2 separate regions of the Homo sapiens genome follow, and region 2 is linked to region 1. The links are contacts of gene promoters, found by promoter capture Hi-C in human tissues and cell types (Jung and others, 2019). All regions are on one chromosome and are shown on one strand. Each heading gives the region's core, a stretch centred on a gene start or on the middle of the fragment in contact. The rest is flanking DNA. Distances are from core to core; before and after follow the strand shown. Region 1 holds the start of RABIF (RAB interacting factor). Region 2 has its middle 14 kb from the start of PTPN7.

The links. The method cuts DNA at HindIII sites, captures the fragments that hold promoters and counts their contacts. A contact is called where the count stands out against the background at its distance.
Region 2: a contact is called between a fragment that was not itself captured here and the fragment with the promoter of RABIF in region 1, in 1 of the 25 tissues and cell types used here (spleen).

The regions. Positions count from the first base shown.
Region 1 is chr1:202,887,057-202,890,971 of GRCh38, forward strand. RABIF (RAB interacting factor) reads right to left here and starts at 2,093. Exons shown (of 2, transcript NM_002871.5): 1 at 1,917-2,093. The coding sequence starts at 2,042. RefSeq lists a silencer at 1,499-1,788 and an enhancer at 1,859-2,128. The HindIII fragment of the contact is 13,847 bases long and covers 1-3,915 here.
Region 2 is chr1:202,173,003-202,176,917 of GRCh38, forward strand. It overlaps the pseudogene PTPRVP. Among named protein-coding and RNA genes, the nearest start is that of PTPN7, 14 kb to the left of the region's middle. The HindIII fragment of the contact is 7,981 bases long and covers 1-3,915 here.

The sequences.
Region 1 (3,915 bases), core at 843-3,342:
ACAATTAAGAATTTTAAAACAAACTATAAACTCCATTTAGAAGTCTCTTAATTTATGTCAGTTTATAAAATTAGACAAAACCTTGCCATGGAAAAGGAGTATGGGAACTAACCTATATTATGGGCTATATACTCGGCACAGTGCTAAGTGCTTTTATACAAATTCTTCCCTCTATCATCATCTTCATTTTACAAGCTTGTCCAACCCGCGGCCGGCATATGGCTCAGAACGGCTTTGAATGCGGCCCAACACAAATTCGGAAACTTTCTTAAAACATTATGAAAAATTTTTTTTTTTGCAATTTTTTTTTAAGCTCATCAGCTATCATTAGTGTATTTTGTGTGGCCCAAGACAAGTCTTCCAATATGGCCCAGGGAAGCCAAAAGACTGGACACCCCTGTTTTACACAATAGCAACCTGCATCTCATGGAGGTTAAATAACTTTTTTTTTTTTTTTTTGAGATGGTGTCTCGTTCTGTTGCCCACACTGGAGTGCAGTGACTCAATCTCCGCTCACTACAACCTCGGCTTCCCAGGTTCAAGCGATTCTCCTGCCTCAGCCTCCCGAGTAGCTGGGATTACAGGCTTGTGCCACCACCCCCAACTAATTTTTGTATTTTTTTTTTTAGTAGAGATGGGGTTTTGCCATGTTGGCCAGGCTGGTCTCACACTCCTGACCTCAGGTGTTCCGCCCGCCTCGGCCTCCCAAAGTGCTGGGATTACAGGCATGAGCCACCGCGCCCAGCCTAACTGTTTTAATGTTAATGAATGATAGTCAGGACTCAATTCCATGTATGTTTCAATTCCAAGATCCATGTTCTTTCCACTGACTCCATAATGCCACTAACTTCGTAAAATTAATTGAGAACTCTACTCCTAAACCTTGAAGTCTTAAAAGAACCCCGGGACCTCCACCAATCTCTAGATCAAAAGTCATCAAAATACCTACAAAACAACAGACACAGATTCCCTTTTTTCCTCCTTTGATGAAAGGCTGTTTTGGACGAATGGGTACCTCTTGCTCTTCTACTAGACATTACACTTCACCATCTGTTCAAGCACGTGAAATAATAAAATGATCTGCATATTTTTAGAAATAATTTTGAATGATAGGATGTGTCTATGGTTGAAATGACATTATATTTGCACTTCAACACAGTTTACCGAAATAAATTTTTTTTTCAACTTTCTCACTTGCGATGATGGTGGTAGGAAGGGTATTAAAATCCCTAAACTGAAGGGAAAAAAAAAGTTTTTCTTCGAAATTTACTTCCAGGACGTCAGGGATCTACTGCACTTGAAATATGATTCATCTGGAAAACCACAGGCTTCCAGTGCCTCGGTAAAGTGGGTAGGTTACCAGGGTTATTTTGCCGCGTCCCCAACACCAGTTGTTCCTGGGGATCCTCTGTGGAGCAGATAGGTGCCCGTCATAAATGAGACGGTGAATTCAGGACTGGCGGGTGAGGTCTAAAGTGGGAAAGGAACCCAGCAACACCCGCGGTGAGCGGCGGCCGAGAGGCACCTGCCGGGTCCTGCAAGCTGGCGGGAGCTCCGAGAGCCGGAATGGGGCGCCTCCCTTCCACGCGCCCGCGGAGCACCGGCCTTGGACGGCGGCGGGGCGCACGGCCCGCGCTCGAAGCCCCCCCGGGGGCAGAGGGCCGGGCTGGCTGGGCCGGGTGGCCCAGGGAAGGGTTCCCGCGGCAAAAGATGCCGGGGCGGGACCCGGTTCCCTCCCTAGCCTTCAGCGGCCCCAGGGGCGGAGCCTCGCCGAGCTGAGGCCCGAGGGGCGGGGCTTAAGGCCGCGCGAGGAGGGCGCGGTTGCCGGAAATTGAAGAGCCGGGGTTCAGATTCTGACTGCGGCGGCTCGTCGGGGGAGACTGTGGGTGTAAACGGCCTCCAACCTGCCTCCCTACCTGTCGGCGAGAGAAGAGAGCGGTCCCTGGCTGCAGCACCCGGGAGCCGCAACGCTGGCACAGCACCGCCTTCCGGTTTCGGCCCTCGGCTGACACTAACTCGCTCGGCTGCTCCGCTGGTTCCATCGCCGCTGCCGCCACAGGCTCCTCAGCCACGGCTGCGCAGACGCTGTCTCTGCTGGCTCGTTATTCACTGCGCTGGCGCGGCTTGGCAGAGGCGGGGCGGCGAGCGGACGGTCACTATGTCTCTGCGCAGGCGCCCGCTTCCCCGCTCTGGACTCTACTGCGCAAGCGCCTTCATTCATTGCCTAACCTAAGTGGCTAGGTGTCGGCAGGCTTTGTGACAGGGACACTTCTTGGCACCAGTGACACATCTCCATACCCACCTGGCCACTGGGCTTCACTTAAAACCTAGACAAATCATTAGGTTGACCTTACTGTTTAGTTTTCTGGGATCTGAATTTAGTCTCCTGAATAAATGGGGACATTATTGGGGGCAATATGAAGGGAATCTGGGTCGGACTTCCCATCAAGTTTTAGCCACATTAGCTTCTTCTATAGGAAACTACTTAGAGGGGCATGTATCTTTTCGGTATTGGAAAAAGATGCGTGGAAACTTTAATTGCTGGTCTCTTCTACTCATTGTGACCATTTACTATGCGGCAAAATGTGTCAAAGCGCCTTTAGAAACTTACTAAATCATCAGTTTCCTTACGGGGTCGGCACGCTTGTGCACAAAATGAGAAAGGTAAAGATCAGAAAGGTTGCAGCACAACTCTAAAGCCACTGCTCTTAATTAACTAGGATTGTCAGGAAAGCAAGATTATTTCAGACAGAACAGTATTATATATGAACAAGGGTGAGAACAAATTTAGGAATGGTTAGTAGACCACTGTGGCTGACCCACATTACACGTGGGGAGAAGTGGTAGTAGAGGTAGGTAAGGCAGAGTGGGCCCAGAGCTCCATGGCTTTAATGTCATGCTAAGGAATTTAACATTAATAACATGAACAATGGGAATCTGTGGAATTTTAGGCCAGAAATAACTGTTCGATATTTACTGTCTGCTGTATGTTAAGCACTGTAATGATCCTATCTGTGCTTCAGAAAGATAACCTATGAATAAATAGAGGGGCTAGATTGAAGAGAGGAAAAAGAGTAGAGGTAAGGTATCAGGTAGCTATTACCTCATCAGTCTAGCTCAGAAAGGCCCTGAAGCTAGCAGAGGGAACAAAGATATGGGAATGGACTTGAAACAATTAAAATTGTACAGAACTTAGAAACTAGCTGGATGTCTGTATTGTGATGGGGGTGACACAAAGCAACTGCTGGTTTTCCCAGGTTAGATAACTAAGTAGCTGGTTGCCAGTTATGGGAGCTTAAAAAAATAAGATGAACCACCAAATTAGGGGTATCTCTGTGTATGTATGTGAGCACATGAAAGTGTGTACGATTGTGAAGAGTGAAAAAGGAGCTGTTTTACGTGTTGATTTTTCTGTAGAACATACCATTGTGGCTTCAGTGTATGAACTATTTGTGAAGTTGGTCTGAAACTCATTAGTCAGCACTGAAGACAGCATAGGAGCCATCAGTCCTTCACCCTCCCCTGGATCTCTTCCTGAGATAGGAAAAGTCACGTTTTATAGGCTTTGGTTTAATTAGCATGCACAATCCATCTGCCAAAGTTGGTAGGCATCTTTTAAGGAAAATAACTTCCTCATGTGGCTCCTCCTTCCTTTTGCTCTGGAAGCATCAGGACTGTTTCAGTTTTGCAGGCCTTCCGCATAGCTGTTTATATCACATGCCACAATTCAAAGCAAATGGAAAAAAGGACTGGTGTGACTGAAACCCTGAAATTCAAGCGCGTGCTAAGTGAATTCAAGATCTTTTCTGTATTCCTTTTTCAAGTAACTCCAAGCGTCAGAGGGGCTAATGAATATGGCAAATCAGGTAAATATTTTACTGATGAGAATCTCCAAAGTGTAAAGTGGCTACCTCT
Region 2 (3,915 bases), core at 389-2,888, 710 kb before region 1:
ACAGGCGCCTGCCACCTTGCCTGGCTAATTTTTGTATTTTTATTTTATTTTTTTAGTAGAGATGGGGTTTCACCATGTTGGCTAGGCTGATCTTGAACTTCTGACCTCAAACAGTCTGTTCACCTCGGCCTCCCAAAGTGCTGGGATTACAGGCATGAGCCACTGTGGCTGGACTGTGTGCCATATATATATATATATATATATATTTTTTTTTTTTTTTTTTTTTTTTTTTCCAAGACGGAGTTGCTCTATCACCCAGGCTGGAGTGCAGTGGCATGATCTCAGCTCATTGCAACCTCCGCCTCCAAGGTTCAAGCAATTCTCCTGCCTCAGCCTCCCGAGTAGCTGGGGTTACAGGTGCCTGCTACCACACATGGCTAATTTTTGTATTTTTAGTAGAGATGGGGTTTCACCATGTTGGCCAAGCTGGTCTCGAATTCCTGACCTCATGATCTGCCCACTTCAGCCTCCCAAAGTGCTGGGATTACAGGCGTGAGCCATCGTGCCCGGCCTTGTGTGCCATATTCTTGACTCAGAAGGCCATGAGTACAAGATGAGGCCTTTCATGAATCTATTTGCAAGCAATTTCTACCTCCTTCCATCTGGTTAGCTATATACCCACCATCTATCCACTGTCCATCCATCCATCTATCCATCCACCATCCATCCATCCATCCCACAATTATTTAATGAATGACTCCCATTTTCTTGGCATGAAACCAGTTGCTGAGGCCAAAAATGATGAATAGTCCTCAGTGCCTCAGGAAGACAAGTAAACAGATGGCATATGTGTGTGTGTGTGTGTGTGTGTGTGTGTATATATGATTTTATATATCATAATACCTGTTAATGCACTAATTGGAATGTGCATAATGTATTAGCTTGAACCATATGAAACTCCATTCCTATTGGTTAAAATGGCTGAATCTCAGGAATTTTATGTGGTTCAGTCTAATCTTCTAGGACTCACAGAAGGGACACCTGCTTAAAAAGTCAGAGGAGGTTTCCCGGAGAAGAGTGAGCTGAGTGAGAGCAGGCTGGTGGGGGGCAGGGTGGGGTCCTGCCCAGGGTCATCTGCTGGGGCTGGGGAGGATGGGTGGAGAGGACCTTAGCAGGAGGCTAAGTGTGCACCAAGGTCCTCAGGCCAGAGACAGACTGGACGGGAACTGAACGTCAGCAGGTGAGCTGGAGACCGGGGCCCTAAGAGGTGTGACAGGGTTGGCGCCATGCCCTCAAGGGGCGGACAGTCAGGGAGGAAGCGGGGCAGCAGGTGTCTGGGCAAGCATCTGTTTAAGAGGGTTTCCTGGGAAGGAAAGGAGGGTGGCCTTTGAGCCCTGTGGAAGTGGGGGTTTTAGGTGGGGAGGGCTGGGAGCTTGCCTGGAGACTGAGGAGATGGGTGTAGCTCATGGGGAGGAGAGGCAGGGAATTCAGGTGACTCCACATCTGTTTCTTCCTTGTCCTTCCCCCAGTCCCTGCTCCTCCTGCCAACTTGAGCCTGAACCTTGCCACCCAGCCTCCTGCCCTGAAGGCTTCCTGGAGTCCCCCACCAGTGGGGGAGGGATGGCTTCCAGGTGCAGCTTTATAGCCTGAGGCCTCTGACTCTGGAAAGGGCGGACACTCTGGCCGCAGAGGTCCAGAACTTCTCCTGGGCCTAGCTGTCACCGGGCACTGAGTTCCTGGTGCAGCTGACCACCCTGCGGGGGCTGGATCAGAGCAGCAGCACCAACGCCACAGGCTGGACACATGAGTGCCTTCTGATGGCCCTCCCCTACCTTGCTCCTTGGATTCCCAGGGGGCTGCATGTCCCCTTGGCCTCTGTGGTCTTCAGGCAGGCAGCTGGGCTGATGGTGGGGCATGTATCAGCTTAGGGTTGTTCCCTCGGTCCCTAGGCACTAGGTAACCCCACTCCCCTCACTGGGACTCCCCCAGGGCCCTGGCCCTTTAGGCCTTCTAGAAGGTGGGCAGATCCTTCTTAGAAGGCGTTTGCTCACTTGTACGGCGGCACTGGGCATGATATTCCTCATGCTCTCTCATGGCTGGCAGTAGGGAGGTGGGTGGTAGTGGGCCACAAGTGGTTAATCATAACAATAGCAAGGCTGGGCGCAGTGGCTCACGCCTGTAATCCCAGCACTTTGGAAGGCAGAGGCGGGTGGATCACTTGAGATCAGGAGTTTGAGACTAGCCTGGCCAACATGGTGAAACCCCATCTCTACTAAAAATACAAAAATTAGCTTGAGGTAGAGGTTGCAGAGCTGAGATTGCACCATTGCACTCCAGCCTGGGTGACAGAGTGAGACCCCCTCTCAAAGAAAAAAAAATCATAACAGCAATAGCTAGCGTTTACTGGGCACTCAGCCAGGTCTTCTACCTGTGTGCTCTCATTAAGTCTCATAACACCAAGCCTAGGACGTAGTTACTATGGTTTTCTCTGTTTCACAGATGAGGAGACTGAGGCAGAGAGACAGAAAATAACTTGCGCCAGGTTCCTCAGCACAGTGGGGAGTTGGGATTGAAGCAGGCAGTGTGACCAGCTCCATGCTCCTTGCCTTTACTCAAGTGCAGGACACACAGTGAGGTTTTCTCCTACCCGGAAGCCCTGGGGGCCTGTAGAGTTGGTTTGGGAAGCCCCTCTCATGAGGCCTGAGTCTTCCTGCTCTTTCTGCCTGCGGAGCCCTTGGTGGAGCTGAGGGATAGATGGGCCTCCCCACCCTGAGCGCATCCCTCTCCAATGTGGTGGCTCCTTCTACCCCTACCCTGGGCCTCCCCTCCCAGCCTCCTCCTGCCCCTGTCACTGTTGTCTGGATCTTGCCTGGAGTACAGGCTGGGAGGGAGCTGGAAGGAGGTCACCCTGGAAGTCAGGAGACCTGGGTTCTAGCTGGGGCTCAGCCCCTAGAGCAAACCTTGGCCCTCTTTGAGCCTCAGTGTCCCCATTTATAAAGAAGTGTTGACTTTTGGGCCAGGCTCATGTGGCTCCTGAGTTCAAGTGAGTTCAAGCTCTGAGGGTGGAGGGGTGCTGCCTGGGCCCCCAGATACCTGCCTGTCCATCCACATAAGGGCCTTTTTTTTTTTTTTTTTTTTTTTGAGACAGAGTCTCCCTCTGTCTCCCAGGCTGGAGTGCAGTGGCATGATCTTAACTCACTGCAACCTCTGCCTCCCAGGTTCAAGTCATTTTCCTGCCTCAGCCTCTGGAGTAACTAGAATTACAGGCACCTGCCACCACGTGCGGCTAATTTTTGTATTTTTAGTAGAGTTGGGGTTTCGCCATGTTGGCCAGGCTGGTCTCGAACTCCTGACCTCAAGTGATCCACCCACCTCAGCCTCCCAAAGTGCTCGGATTACAGGCATGAGCCACCACACGTGGCTGCACATAAGGGTCTTTTTTTTTTTTTTTTTTTTTTGAGCTGGAGTGTCACTCTGTTGCCCAGGCTGGAGTGCAGTGGCGCGATCTTGGCTCACTGCAACCTCTGCCTCCGGGTTCAAGCAATTCTTCTGCCTCAGCCTCCTGAGTAATTGGGATTACAGGTGCCCACCACCATGCCCAGCTAATTTTTGTATTTTCAGTAGAGACAGGGTTTCACCATATTGGCCAGGCTGGTCTTGAACTCCTGACCTCAGGTGATCCACCCGCCTCGGCCTCCCAAAGTGCTGGGATTACAGGCATGAGCCACCGCACCCGGCCATAAGGGTCTTTAAAAGCTCCTTTGTGCAGGGGCTGGGAGAAGGGACACAGTTTAACACTCATGCTGCCCAGCCTAGCTCTGCCTTGAGAGGGGTGGGATGTGGCGAGAGTAAGTGATTAGTTCATCTGTTCAACTCAGGCTTAGCCTGGACTCTGCTGCCTGGGGTCAGTGGCAGGCCCTGCTTTCCAGTGGAATCCTGGGCTCACAGGATGCCCTGAAATGGTGTCTCTAGCTC